Linked DNA regions of Homo sapiens: region 2 is linked to region 1. Evidence: promoter capture Hi-C in human tissues and cell types (Jung and others, 2019). All regions are on one chromosome and are shown on one strand. The core of a region is centred on a gene start or on the middle of the fragment in contact, and the rest is flanking DNA. Distances in the headings are between cores, read along the strand shown.

Region 1 (7,244 bases), core at 3,122-5,621:
ACCTGGTACACAGCAGGCACCCAATAAACACATTCTGCTCTAATAATACTTTCTTACGATCTTTACTTCACTTCACTAATTTTCTCTTCAGTTGTGCCCAATCTGATGTTAAACCTATCCACTGAGTTCCTAATTTTTATTACCATATTTCTCAGTTCTAGAATTTCCATTTGGTTCTTTACTATAATTTTTTTTCTTTTTTTTTTTTTTTTGAGACTTAGTCTTGCTCCATCGCCCAGGCTGGAGTGCAGTGGCACGATCTCGGCTCACCACAAGCTCTGCCTTCCAGGTTCATGCCATTCTCCTACCTCAGCCTCCCGAGTAGCTGGGACTACAGGTGCCCGCCACCATGCCTGGCTAAGTTTTTGTATTTTTAGTAGAGATGGGGTTTCACTTTGTTAGCCAGGATGGTCTCGATCTCCTGACCTTGTGATCGACTCGCCTCGGCCTCTCAAAGTTCTGGGATTACAGGTGTTAGCCACCGCGCCCGGCCGGTTCTTTACTATAATTTCTAGTTCTCAATCTTGTCCTGCTGCTCAGAGGGCAGAAGAGGAAAATGTCTTTAAGTAAGCATAGTTATTTGAAAATTTGATTGATTATTCCATTATCTGGATCTTTTGTATAACTTTCTATTATCTGTTTCTGCTTTTTGGTCATGTTGTCTTCAATTTCTTTGAGGGTTGGGCTGTTGTTTCCTGTTTACTCTCACTCCCCGTGGTCCAACCCAAAGCCTAGGTGGGGGGAGTTTGTCAGGGCTCCCCTTTCTTAGAGAATCTAGAACTATAGTTTTTCTCCCATACATTTGTAAGTATGTGAAGATGAGAAAGCTCAGCTCAGTTTCTCAGCTGTCCCCTCTGCAAGTGGCATACTTTTAGGAGGAAAGCAGCTCCATATAAAGGGCTTGCTTCTCTCAGTCCCTTATTTCTTTTCTGCATTGGTAACTTTTCAGTACTGACTTTACTGTTGCCCCATAGTAAATATTTACTGGATGAATAAATGCAGGACTACTAGGCTCGGAGGTGGGAATAGATCTAGATGAATACACGCACTCATTCTTCCGGCAGTCCCTGACACCTACACTGTGCCATGTTCTGTGCTTCGCTGAGTAAGAGAAGTGACAAAATCTAGTCCCAACCCACAAGGGACAGACCATATTCTTGGTAGACACAATCTTTAGAACAGAGGTCAACAGAAAGGGCCCTTCGAACATTTAGGAACTTTGAGTTTCCTAGGGAAAGTGGAAAGTTTCCCTGGGGAAGGGGCTTCTAAGCTAAATCTTGAAGAATAAAGAAGAGTTTGCAGTCTGGGCAACATAGCAAAACTCCACCCTCCACCACCCCAAAAATTAGCTGGGCATGGTGGCATGCACCTGTAGTCCCAGGTACTTAGGAGGATGAGGCGGGAGGATTGCTTGAGCCCAGGAGTTCGAGGTTACAGTGAGCTATGATTGCACCACTTGTACTCCAGCCTGGGTGACAACGGCAAGAACCTGACTCGAGGGGAAAAAAAAAGAGTTTGCCAGGTAAAATAATTGGAGAAGGGCTTTCCTTGCAGAGGAAATACATGGACTGTAGAAGATACTCCTCAGGGTGTCAGGAGGTGAAAATGAAGCTTCTGAGGTTTGCAAGAAAATGTTTACAAATAAGAGTCTGGCATTTAGTATCCTCGCATGCATCTCCAGCATGGGAAACTATAACACGGCTGGCCCCAGGCTCGTCCTGTCTGGCTGCCTCTTTGTAAGAGGGGAGAAGATTGCACAGTGTGATGGAGCTCATTTTCAGCAGAGTAATCTCAGACTTCAACACGGGTATCCTGTCTTCTGGGCTGGTGCCCTTCTGGCACAGGACACCTCCCTGACTCTCATGAACCCCAGAATCACTCACCCCCACAGGCACACCAAAGACAGCTGAGAACTTGAGTCAAGGGTGAGGAGAGACCTCTGGGTGAAAGGGCAGGGATGGGGAAAGAGGGTGATGGATGGCTGGGGACTCCTCCCTCTTCTCTCCCTCCCCGCCCCTCCCTCTCCACTTCCTGGCTTTCTCTCATCAGCTTTGACTCTCAGTTCTTCTTTTCTTCTCTTCTCTTTTTTTGAAATGGAGTTTTTCTCTTGTCGCTCAGGCTGGAGTGCAATGGCACGATCTCGGCTCACTGCAACCTCCTTCTCCCGGGTTCAAGTGATTCTCCTGCCTCAGCCTCCCGAGTAGCTGGGATTACAGGCATGTGCCAGCACACCTGGCTAATTTCTGTATTTTCAGTAGAGACAGGGTTTCACCATGTTGGCCAGGCTGGTCTAGAACTCCTGACCTCAGGTGATCCACCCACCTCGGCCTCCCAAAATGCTGGGATTACAGGCGTGAGCCACTGTTTCCTGGCCTTTTTTTTTTTTTTTTTGAGACAGGGTCTTGCTCTGTCACCCTGGCTGGAGTGCAGTGCCACAATCATGGCTCATTGCAGCCTGGGCCTCCCAGGTGCAAGCAATCCTCCTGCGTCAGCCCCCAAGTAGCTGAGACTATAGGTTTGTGCCACTATGCCCGGCTAATTTTTTTTTTTTTTTTTTTTTTTTTTGAGAGATGGGGCCTTCCTATGTTGCCCGGGTGGTCTCAAACTCCTGTGCTCAAGTTATCTGCCCGCCTCAGCCTCCCAAACTGCTAGGATTACAGGCGTAGCCCCTATGCCCAGCCTCTGTTTTTTTCTTTGGACTCAGCCTCAGCCAGATCTCCCCTGGGCTTGCAACACAAGGCCCAAAACAATAGAAGAGAAGTGAGGGGAGTTTTCCCTTTACTACCTAGCATGTAAATGAGGCCTAAAGTAGACTAAGGAAGGGAGAGTGTGAAGGGAGAGTGGGCCAGAGCTGGGGTTGTGGTGACCAACTCCTGGGGCCTGGGGGGAGTTTGTGTAGGGGAGGGGGAGGGAGTGGCAGGGAATCAAGACTTAATGGATGAATTCTAGGGCAGCCCCAGAGGTTACATACATGGCTGTGGCTTCAGACAGACCTGGATTCAAGGTCAAATGAGACTGGCTCCACCATTTACGACCTTAGCAAGTCACTTAACATCTAAGCCTCAGTTTTTTCACCAGTCAAATGGGGATAAACATAACACCTGCTGCAGGGCACCACAGAGGGTATCAAGTGAGGGAATGCATAAAGCATGGAGCACTATCCAGGCAGCTGTGGGATTCCTCTCATCCCCCCACCCCTCCCTGGGCCCTCACAGCCACTCTCTCACCCCAGTCCCCTTCCACTGTAGCTTAGTCACCCACTTGTCCCTTCCCTCGCTCCCCTCCCATTCATCCTCAGCTAATACAAACAACCCATCTGCTTGCTACTTTCTCTACCAAAATCACAAAATTCTAGGTCTTGGCTGGGCGCGGTGGCTCATGCCTGTAATCCCAGCACTTTGGGAGGCCGAGGCAGGCGGATCACTTGAGATCAGGCATTCGAGACTAGCCTAGCCAACATGGTGAAACCCAGTCTCCGCTAAAAAAAAAAAAAAAATACAAAAAATTAGCCAGGCATGGTGGCACACACCTGTAGTCCCAGCTATGCGGGAGGCCAAGGCAGGATAATTGCTTGAACCCAGGAGGTGGAGGTTGCAGTAAGCCGAGATCATGCCAGTGCACAGAGCAAAACTCTGTTTAAAAAAAAAAACAAAAAAACCAACAACAACAAAACAAAACACTAGGTTTTAACAAACTTCAGAAATAATCTATTTCAGTCTTCCCAGTTCCTTGAAATGAGGAACTGAGGCCTAGAGAGGGAAAGCCCAACTGAAACCAGGCTTCCCGATTCCTCACCTCCAGCACCTTCACAGAAATCCACCAACCCTTCCACAATCTAAACATTTCCCAAGCTTTCATTCAGAACCTGCAGCCCATCTACAACCTTCCCTTGAAACATAAATCTATCCCAGCCCTTCTCCTTCAGCTCCTATACCCTGCCCCAATCTTCTTTAAACAACAAACTCATTTACGGAATATCTGCTATGTTCTGGCTCTTTTTAAATTGGTTATTATTACATGTAATCCGGCAGTTCTTTTGTTAAAGGGTCAGAGAGGTAGAGTTTCTGGCCCAGGGTCTCAGAGCTGGTCAGTGATTAAACCAGGATTCAGCCTGCAGGATGCATGATTCCAGGCCTTGGGCCCTACTTACTCCCACCGTTGCCTCTGGATTGACCTCTCTCCTATCTTGTACGATCTAGCCTGCTCCCCCAGCCAGGGCCTTAGAACCTAGAGCCTGGTATTATCCACCCCCAGATCTGCAGAAAGGAAGCCACACCCCTCCTCCACCTTGTAAGCCCTCCTTCCTCTCCCTACCTCACCCCGCCTCCTCTGCCTCCTGGTTCAAAAGCAGCTAAACCAAAAGAAGCCTCCAGACAGCCCTGAGATCACCTAAAAAGCTGCTACCAAGACAGCCACGAAGATCCTACCAAAATGAAGCGCTTCCTCTTCCTCCTACTCACCATCAGCCTCCTGGTTATGGTACAGGTAAGAGCAACGCCTGGCACCACTGCCAGGACTCCCCAAAGTTGCTTGGCATGGAGGGAGGGCATACAGGATGTGAGCTCCCAGAGACCCAGCCTTCTCTCCTGAGAGCACAGCAGATGGACTCCAACAGGAAAACTGGGGACACAGCGGGCCTGGCCGCCCAGCCTTCCAGCTCTTCTGGCTGGGGCTGCACTGCTTGCGGGCTGCCCTGAGAGAAACCTGTATCCACAGCTGGGGAGCACTTACAGGGTGCTAGGCGCGTTGGGGCACCCAAGGGGTGTTGTGGAATAATAGAGAACTAAGAGACTTGGGAAGACAACCCTGAGTGAGGAAGGCATCGGCCCACAGGGAGTCTGGGGAGATGGTCCTTTGGGGAGAGGCCAGGAGATGTCCAAGTGGAGCCTGCTGTGGTTATGGAGGTGACAGGGGACACTCTAACCCCCACTCCCCTGCCAGAGAGAAGCCTGGATGTTCAGGAATGCAAAGAAGACAGGACTCTCCCATTTCAGAAACAACTGGAGTCTCAAAAGCGACTGCTATTCCAGGAGGCAGCTTTGGTAGCATCCCAGGTGCCCAGAGGGGAGTCAGTACAGCAGACCGGAGCCATCAAGTTCTTGATCAAGAACAGCTTGATCACCATCAAAACCAGCTTAATCTCCATCAAGAACAGTTCTAGTTGCAGCTCCATCAAGCATTAAGGACAGCTCGATCACCATCTGGCCACTTCCCCACCCCACATCCAGCCACCCACGCTTTGCCAAGTGCTTTCTCACTCAGCCCTGGCTCATGTGACCTTCACAACTGTGATGAACTTCTCCCCACTCAGAAGATGAAACTGAGGCTCAGGGAAGCTAAGCCCTTTGCCAGGCTAGGAAGGTCAAGGGCCAGGGCTCCCCTGTCTCCCTCTATGCCAGAAGGGCTGGTCGCTGGGGAAAGGTGAAAAGAAAGGTTCTGTGACCGGGCACGGTGGCTCACGCCTATAATCCCAGCACTTTGGGAGGCCGAGGCAGGCGGATCACCTGAGGTCAGGAGTTCAAGACCAGCCTGGCCAACATGACAAAATCCCGTCTCTACTAAAAATACAAAAATTAGCTGGGCGAGCCGGGCGCGCTGGCTCGCGTCTGTAATCCCAGCACTTTGGGAGGCTGAGGCGGGTGGATCATGAGGTCAGGAGATCGAGACCATCCTGGCTAACACATTGAAACCTCGTCTCTACCATAAATACAAAAAGAAATTAGCCGGGCGTGGCGTGGTGGCGGGCGCCTGTAGTCCCAGCTACTCGGGAGGCTGAGGCAGGAGAATGGCGTGAACCTGGGGGTGAAGCTTGCAGTGAGCCGAGATCACGCCACTGCACTCCAGCCTGGGCGGGCGACAGAGCAAGACTCTGTCTCGGAAAAAAAAAAAAAATTAGCTGGGCGTGATAGCGGCTGCCTATAATCCCAGCTACTCGGGAGGTTGAGGGGTGGAGGTTGCAGTGACCCGAGATCATGCCACTTCACTCCAGCCTGGGCAAAAGAGCGAAACTCTATCTCAAAAAAACAGAAAGTTTCTGTGAAAGGGGGTGGACAGGGGCAGTGATCACCTCTGTCCCTGCCTGTGTCAAAGCAGGAAGCAGTCAAACATCCTGACAGGACCTTGTGGAAGAAGTAGTGGTCACATGGGGCAGAACTGAGGACTGTTTTATGGAGGTGGGCGGATGGAGGGCGGGGAGGGTAGAAAGGGGACTGCATCTTTAAATAACAAACACGCTATTCAAAAGTCCCCTGAGGGCTGGGTACGATGGCTCACACCTGTAATCCCAGTACTTTGGGAGGCCGAGGCGGGTGGATCACCAGGTCAGGAGTTCGAGACCAGCCTGACCAACATGGTGAAACCCCGTCTCTACTAAAAATAGAAAAATTAGCCGGGCGTGGTGGCACGTGCCTATAGTCCCAGCTACTCAGGAGGCTGAGGCAGGAGAATCACTTGAACCCGGGAGGTGGAGGATGCAGTGAGCCGAGATCGCATCACTGCAGTCCAGCCTGGGTGACAGAGTGAGACTCCACCTCTAAAAAAAAAAAAAAAAGTCCCCTGATCTTATCCCACTTCTCCTCCTACAGATACAAACTGGACTCTCAGGACAAAACGACACCAGCCAAACCAGCAGCCCCTCAGCATCCAGCAACATAAGCGGAGGCATTTTCCTTTTCTTCGTGGCCAATGCCATAATCCACCTCTTCTGCTTCAGTTGAGGTGACACGTCTCAGCCTTAGCCCTGTGCCCCCTGAAACAGCTGCCACCATCACTCGCAAGAGAATCCCCTCCATCTTTGGGAGGGGTTGATGCCAGACATCACCAGGTTGTAGAAGTTGACAGGCAGTGCCATGGGGGCAACAGCCAAAATAGGGGGGTAATGATGTAGGGGCCAAGCAGTGCCCAGCTGGGGGTCAATAAAGTTACCCTTGTACTTGCAGTGGGGTCCTGCTTGTGGTTACTGGACATCCCTACGCCCCAAGAGCCAGCTGTGCAGCAGCACCAGGGAGTTTCCCATGTCCCCATCAGCAGGGAAATTGGCACCAGGGAGCAGCCCCCAGCTTCCCCACCTAAATTCCAATGCTGAGGGCCCTTCCCCTTAGAAGCACATTGCAGGGACAAGGCCCAGAACCTGGCAGCCTCACCAACCCTGCAGTTGCGTTTGCTTCATCCATCCCTGGGTGTTTGGGAATGATGGTACTAGAGATGCCACCACCCTGGACATCCCAGGCTCAGAGAGCCCCTAC
Region 2 (7,244 bases), core at 1,817-4,316, 330 kb before region 1:
ACATTATATGTCCCAAGCACCGCATTAGAGGCTTTACGTACATCCCGTACTACAAACCCCCAAAGACATGTATTTAGACAGGTTCAGTAACTTGCCCAAACCCCATGGCTAGTAACTTATAAAGTCTGGATTTGAATCCAGGAAAGTCTAACTCAGTCACCAAAGCTCTTTCATATGTAATTCTCTCCCAACTCTCCATACCACACTGGCTAATGGATGCCCCTTACAAAAGCCTGGACACTGCAGGCTATAAGGTACTGCGTCCACCTGGGGATCTCCCAGGAACATAACCAAGCAACTGGGAAAGCATGCAGAGGTCAGGCCAGCCCTTACCCACCGCCAGGTTGAACAGCAAGCCCCCGCAGCGCTTATTAAACTGCAGGTACTCGGCCAGGCCAGTGCAGTACTCATAGCGGGGAATCCACAGGGGCTGCTCCATGGTCTCCTCTGCCTTTTGGCAGGGGTAGAAGAGTCGAAAGAAGCTCCCCTGTAGGAAAGAAGAGAGCAGCTGCTCAGAGCAAGGAGCCCAGGCTAGATTTCCCAACAGCCACACTCAGCAGGTGTTTGGGGCACCAGCAAAACAGGGCACCAAAACAGGGAAACTGAAGTTTCAATTAGCATGCCTGAATTTCACATTCAGAAATCTGGAAAGAAGCAATTTGATTTTTAGCATATATGTAAAGCTTACGTTATTTCAAATAGCCAACTGTATTTTGAATTACATTGTGGGAGGGGGCACCAAAAATATTTGAGTGCTTGGGACAATGAAAGATTTAAATCTGGCCCTGAACCTAGGCCTAGAGGAGCCCCAGGAGTTAGAGATTAGTTCTCGTGCTGAACAGGGTGGCCTTGGTAGCTCATCCAGGCCACTCTGCTCTAGGACAGCCCCTGGGAAGCAACAGCACACTCATTTTACATGGGAGTAGGTGAGGGGTTACTAGGAAGTGTGTGCCTCTCAAGGGAGACAGGAAGTCCAAGGGCTAGCAGAGAAAGACCTAGGAACTAAGCCAGGCACAGTGGCTCATGCCTGTAATCCCAGCACTTTGGGAAGCCGAGGTAGGAGAGTCGCTTGAGGCCAGGAGTTAGACATCAGCCTGGGCAACATAGCAAGGCCTCGTCTCTACTATATATACATATATATAAGATAGAGGACCAGTCCAGAAGTCAAAGCAGGAGGGGAAAACAGATCAAGGCAGGAGAGAGAAAAGGAAGCTGTCCCCCTACCCAGGTCAGGGAGTCCAAGGCCAAAGGCACACGCCCATGGCTCTTTCTCTCACACACTCAGATTATGATACGATTAAAACCCTTCCAAGATCAGGCATCTGCCCTCAAGAAAGGTGAGAGGATCTGCGAGCTGCCTCTAAAGCTAGAGTCCCCCCTTTCCTCCTAGGTGGAAAATGAACGCATTATCTCTGTCTATTGGGATGTTTCTAATGTTTGGAAAGAGGAAGAAAAAGCTCAGGAAGACAGACCTGGGGGCTTGATAACCAAATCCAGACCCGCTCTAATTCATTTTCCCCACCGTGGGAATACAGGATCAGACTTGTGATCAGTAAGTCACGGTGCCGGCAGAAGCAGTGCAAACAGAAGAAAGGGAGCTGGGGACACTTACCTGGAGATTCTGACCCTCCATCACATCCCCACAGCCTACGAGGTGGGGTCCTGTGACAGGTGGAAAGCCCACAGACTGGTTGACCCCCATTTCATCACCGGGTGAATCAAATGACTTGCCGGAGCTGAACTTGCTGGCTGGATGGGGGAACACAGAACAGCAGCCGCTTGCTGGTTTCCTCTCGGCTTCCTGTTGCTGAAATGTGTTATCTGTTACCCTGTCCACCCCTCCTTAGCACCTCATCCTCCCTGCCGTCGCTCATTAAATCTTGCACCTACTACTTTGCTACATTGCCTTTGCCAAGGTTGGGGGTTGTTTTTTATTTTGCTAGGGTGAGGAGATGGCTGGAAGACGAAAGAGAGCCATCCATACTCCTTACAGCCCATTAACGTATGTTTATCCAGCAGCTACTGCTGCAGAGACTGTCACACAGACCTTGCTCTCCTGAGGCTAATAGTAACCACTAAGATCCATTATTTACGGTTAGCACTGTACTGACCTCTTTATAGACACTATACACATTGCATCATTTCATTGTCTCAACCACTCTCTGAGGTAGGTACTTTTTTTTTTGAGACGGAGTCTCGCTCTGTTGCTAGGCTGGAGTGCAGTGGCATGATCTTGCTCGCTGCAACCTCCGACTCCCTGGTTCAAGCGATTCTCCTGCCTCAGCCTCCTGAGTAGCTGGGATTACAGGCACGTGCCACCATGCCCAGCTAATTTTTTGTTTAATTTTTAGTAGAGACGGGGTTTCGCCATGTTGGCCAGGATGGTCTTGATCTCCTGACCTCGTGATCTACCCACTTTGGCCTCCCAAAGTGCTGGGATTACAGGCGTGAGCCACCGCGCCTGGCCTGAGGTAGGTACTATTAAGACCTTGTTTTGGCCAGGCACGGTGGCTCACGCCTGTAATCCAAGCACTTTGGGAGGTCGAGGCGGGCAGATCACCTGAGGTCAGGAGTTCAAGACCAGCCTGGCCAACATGGCGAAACCCCGTCTCTACTAAAAATACAAAAATTAGCCGGGTGCAGTGGCAGGCACCTATAGTCCCAGCTACTCAGGAAGCTGAGGCAAGAGAATCGCTTGAACCTGGGAGGCAGAGGTTGCAGTGAGCCGAGATTGCACCACTGCACTCCAGCCTGGGTGACAGAGTGAGACCCTGTCTCAAAAAACAAACAAACAAACAAAAGACCCTGTTTTACAGATGAGGAAACTAAGGCATAAAGAGGTTGAATAACCTTCCCAAGTTACCCAGTGGCAAACCCATCTCTGCCTAATCCGGAAGCTAAGTTCTTAACCATTACTGATCCTGCTCAGGGGGAGATTCAGTTATACAGATGCAAAGTTACTGAACTAAGCTTTTTCTTAAAACCGTTTGATTTTTTTGAGAGACAGGGTCTTGCTATGTTGTCCAGGCTGGTCTCAAACTCCTGGGCTCAAACAATACACCTGCCTAGGCCTCCCAAGTAGCTGGGATTACAGGTAAGAGCCACCACACCCAGCTTTTAAACTACTGAATATGGGGTAGCACTTATGCTGGGCCTTTAAAGATGAGGAAGTTGAGAGGCAGGGGAGGAGGAAGAAAGCACTTATAGAAAAAATCCTAAGAGGAAAAAAAGCAGAGGTAGGGAAAAGTATGATGTGGGCAGTAGATCAAACAGATGCTTTCAGCATGACAGGCATGCACACTCCTGACTAGATAACATTCCTACGGCTCAGCTGCTTCCTAAACTGGTGCCAGTGCTCCCCTAACCCTCTTCAGTTTCATCATCTCCAACACCACCATCATCATCATACTTACTCTGTGCCAGGAACTATGTTTAGTGCTTTTCACATATTATTTTATTTAATTCTTTCAACAGTCCTCTGAGATACGTATTATTATCTCATTTTACAGATGAGGAAACAGATGCTTGACAAAGGCAATTTACCCAATAACATATGGCGAGCAGAGCCAGAATTCGATCATGGACAATGTGGTTGTAACATGAGAATGTCAAACTTCCCAGTGTCCCTTGCCTTGTGATTTGGGTGGGGCTGACCCCTCCTTAACCTCCGGAGTTGAGCCTTAATTAACCGGAGCCAATCAGTCCTTCTTATTCTCCGGTCAGTATTTGGATGAAAAGTGCGCGTATGGCATTAGGTTGGTCCAATAGGCGTAAAACCCGGGACTTTGGTATGACGGTTGAGGGGAGAAAAGTTATTTCCTGTGTTGGACTAGTGTGATGTGCAGATGTCACCTGTCAAGTGGCCTTGAACCACAGCAGCCACTTTTGCCACCTTGAGGATGAAGATACCCATGGTGGATGGGAAAACCAGAAGAATCACAGAGAAATAGAGGCCCATTTGTGAAGACATTAAGAATCCACAGATTAGACCATACCTGAAACCTGACCCACTCCTAGACTTTCTAGTTACATGAGTCAGTAAGTTCCCTTTCTTGGTTAAACCAACTGAAGTTAGATTTCTTTTGGTTGTAACCAAAAGCATCTAAATGGATACACACTGAGTCTGGGGTCCACATGTTAATGATTAAATTATTCTGCTTCCTTTAAGATGCTCTGGGAGGGATTCAGGAGTTCCAGTCAAAGCATGTCTGGGTAAGAAGAGACCTAAGGGAGCATTTCCGTCAATCCCCTCCACAATCGTTTTCCCCTTCTCCGCGTACATACACGTGCTTTACCAGGGAAGACACCAAGGTCCGGAGAGATTAAGTGAGCTGCTCAGAGTCACAAGCAGAACGATGATAACAACACACAGTCTCCTGGTTGTCAGCTGCCACTTGTCTGGTCTCAACAATCCTAACATCATTCTATTTAACTTTGAAAGATAAGAAATTATTTTCTTTCTACTACAGATAGCATCTTCATTTTGTTTCTTTTTAGCAAATTTAAAAACAAACCCAATTCTTTTGAAAAAGAAGCTAAGCTCCTGATGTCAGTGGGTTGTTCAGCCAGAGTGAAGGGGGATGAGCTCTGCTTAGCCTGAGACCCTGACCTTTCCCCATCGCTTGTTGTTGAGGTCTGCAAATGGAAGACCTACTGCTGGGGCCACAAGACACCTGTCACTCACATGACAATGAAGCAGCTGCAAGTTCAACTGTCATAAAAGAAAAGCAGATAAAAGACCACAGGAGTTCTGAGAAGAAACAGTGCTCCTTTAGCTTGGAAGTAGAGAGCAGGGGAAGATGGGAAAGGCTCTTTCAAGCAGGAGAGAGCAAGCAAAGGCACGGTAAGAAGGAAGCTTGTGTGAGAAACAACGCAAGGTGAGAAGAGAAAGTTGTGACCAGATTTGGGGAGGAGCAGTCCCTCAAGTGCTAAGCTAAAAAGTTGGAATCTACTCTGGAAATGAGGTCATGTCCATGAGAGATAGTCTGAAAGAACCACATTGGAGGCCCAGCTCATTTGGTGCCTAGCTTTTTTTTTTTTTTTTTGAGACAGGGTCTTGCTCTGTCTCCCAGGCTGGAGTGCAGTGGCTCACTGTGGCCTCACCCTCCCAGCTCAAGTGATGCTCCCACCTCAGCCTCCTGGGTGGCTGGGACTATAGGCACTTGCCATCACACCCGGCTAATTTTTGTATTTATTTGTAGAGATGGAGTTTCATCATGTTGCCCAGGCTGGTCTCAACCTCTTGGGCTCAAGCGATAATCCTGCCTTAGCCTCCCAAGGTGCTTGGGATTACTGGAGTGAGCCACCGTGCCAGCCCTGCCTAGCTTTCTTATCTTATGCAAGTTATCTGATCTCTCTAAGCTTGATTCCCCATCTGTACAATGGGAACACTATCCATCCTCACAGGGTTGCTGTGGAAATAAAATGAAATAATGCATTCAAAGCATCTGGTGTGGTACCTGACTCTTAGGAAGCATCCAAGAAATGTGCTGATTGAGTGAAAAGTAGAAACACTAGGGTTTGGCCACTGAGTGAATCTGGGGAGTCAAGAGCCAATAAGTCAGGTTTTAAGATTGGGGAACCAGGACAATAGTCCTTAAGCTTCTTATGGGAACAGATTTTTGTCTCACTCTGCATAGAGAACAGCACTTGGGATAGGAATCAGGATAAGCGGACTTGGAAATGGCCAAACAGAAGACAGCAGAACTCTCTGGTGCTCCTGGAAAGTTTCTGGGAAGATCATCAACTAAATTGTTTGGAAATAAAAATTACAGAAGCTAATTGGCCAGAGTGAAGCTAACACGCAAATGAATCTTTATTTCCTGGACTCACATTGACTGATGTCCAAATAGGATGGAGAGATGGAAAAATCCAATCTGAGTTGCAAATTTTGCCAAAGAGACATTTACACAAAGCATCCAGAGTCATTTCTAATAAAAGTCATGGAATTTTCCAAGGAAATCAGTCTATGTGTCTCTACCTTCTTTTGCTCACTTTGTCTAAATAGTTCATGGTAGTACCTGTCCAGAAGCCTCTCCATCCACTGAGGCCCAGTGAAATCTCTAGTCCTCTGTGAAGCTTTCCCAGGTCCTTCCAACCTTTCCTCCTATCATCTCTGATCACTGTCCACATCCATTATCTGGTAACCAATCTTAGACTACTTTAGGGCAGCTCTTGGATTAACACCTATTCTAGCAGTTTTCAACCAGTGACTTGCCTGCAACAGTGGTCCATAGAGAATCTAGATCTTAGGTTCCTGAACCTATTGTCACAATCACCTGGGAAGCTTTTCAAAAATGTATATTCTGGGGGCCCCTATTTCTAGTGATCAATTCGTTTGTAAAAGCTTCCCAGGTGTTTCTGATCAGCAAAGTTTGAGAACCTCTGGTCTAGACTTTGATTAGAAATGTCTCTGGATGAACTTTTCTTTCATTCAGACACGTATGCATGCAGCAGACGCTTACTGAGTATATACTGTGTTCTGGTCCACATTTTCACGACTACGATTTCACTTGCTATAATCCCCATGGCCACCCAGAAGCATGTTCCTATCACTAGACTTAATGTAGTGCCCTGCATATAGCTGGTCTCAATAATTAATTTATCCAATGAATACTATTTAATTTTTGGCACACTTATGCCTCATCTCTTCAGATCTACTCCGGGGGTAAAGATTGGGTTTTATATTTTTTTGTAGACCAAACTGTCTATCTGCATGCTTTCCCCATATAGTTGGGACTCAATAAATGTTCCTTCATTTGGCTATGATTTAAACCCATCTCAAGTCTTCTTTAATCTTTGTTTTTGATCTAAAAATAAGGCTATATGAAATAATGGGGGACAAAGGTTTTGATGACTCTGAATTCTACCCCTGTCACTTATTAGCTGTGTGATCTTGAACAAGTTCCTCAAACTCTAAGCTTCTGATAATTTATTCTCACAACAGAAATAATAACTATGGCCAGACGCAGTGGCTCATGCCTATAATCCCAGAACTTTGGGAGATCAAATGGGAAGGATTGCTTCAGCCCAGGAGTTCAAGACCAGCCTGGGCAACATGGCAAAATCCTGTCTCTATAAAAAAATTAAAAAAAAAAAAAATTAGCTGGATGTGGTGGTATGCAACTGCAGTCCCAGTTACTCAGGAGGCTGAGGTAGGAGGATTGCTGGGGCTTGGGAGCCGGAGGCCACAGTGAACCAAGATTGTGCCACTGCACTTCGGCCTGGGTGACAGAGCGAGGTCT

What was found. Contacts are between HindIII fragments. The study calls those that stand out against the background at their distance.
Region 2: a contact is called between a fragment that was not itself captured here and the fragment with the promoter of CD52 in region 1, in 4 of the 25 tissues and cell types used here (H1 embryonic stem cells, adrenal gland, bladder and 1 more).

What each region holds. Positions count from the first base shown.
Region 1 is chr1:26,313,587-26,320,830 of GRCh38, forward strand. CD52 (CD52 molecule) reads left to right here and starts at 4,372. Exons shown (of 2, transcript NM_001803.3): 1 at 4,372-4,485; 2 at 6,585-6,937. The coding sequence starts at 4,432. The coding sequence ends at 6,716. It also overlaps a transcript of UBXN11 not described here. RefSeq lists a silencer at 4,162-4,354 and enhancers at 4,429-4,498, 4,629-4,778, 5,152-6,137, 5,279-5,378. The HindIII fragment of the contact is 5,127 bases long and covers 2,732-7,244 here.
Region 2 is chr1:25,989,115-25,996,358 of GRCh38, forward strand. It overlaps PAFAH2 (platelet activating factor acetylhydrolase 2), which reads right to left. Exons shown (of 11, transcript NM_000437.4): 2 at 1,613-1,749; 3 at 334-487. The coding sequence starts at 1,702. Among named protein-coding and RNA genes, the nearest start is that of PAFAH2, 5.3 kb to the right of the region's middle. RefSeq lists an enhancer at 4,457-4,968. The HindIII fragment of the contact is 7,134 bases long and covers 1-6,633 here.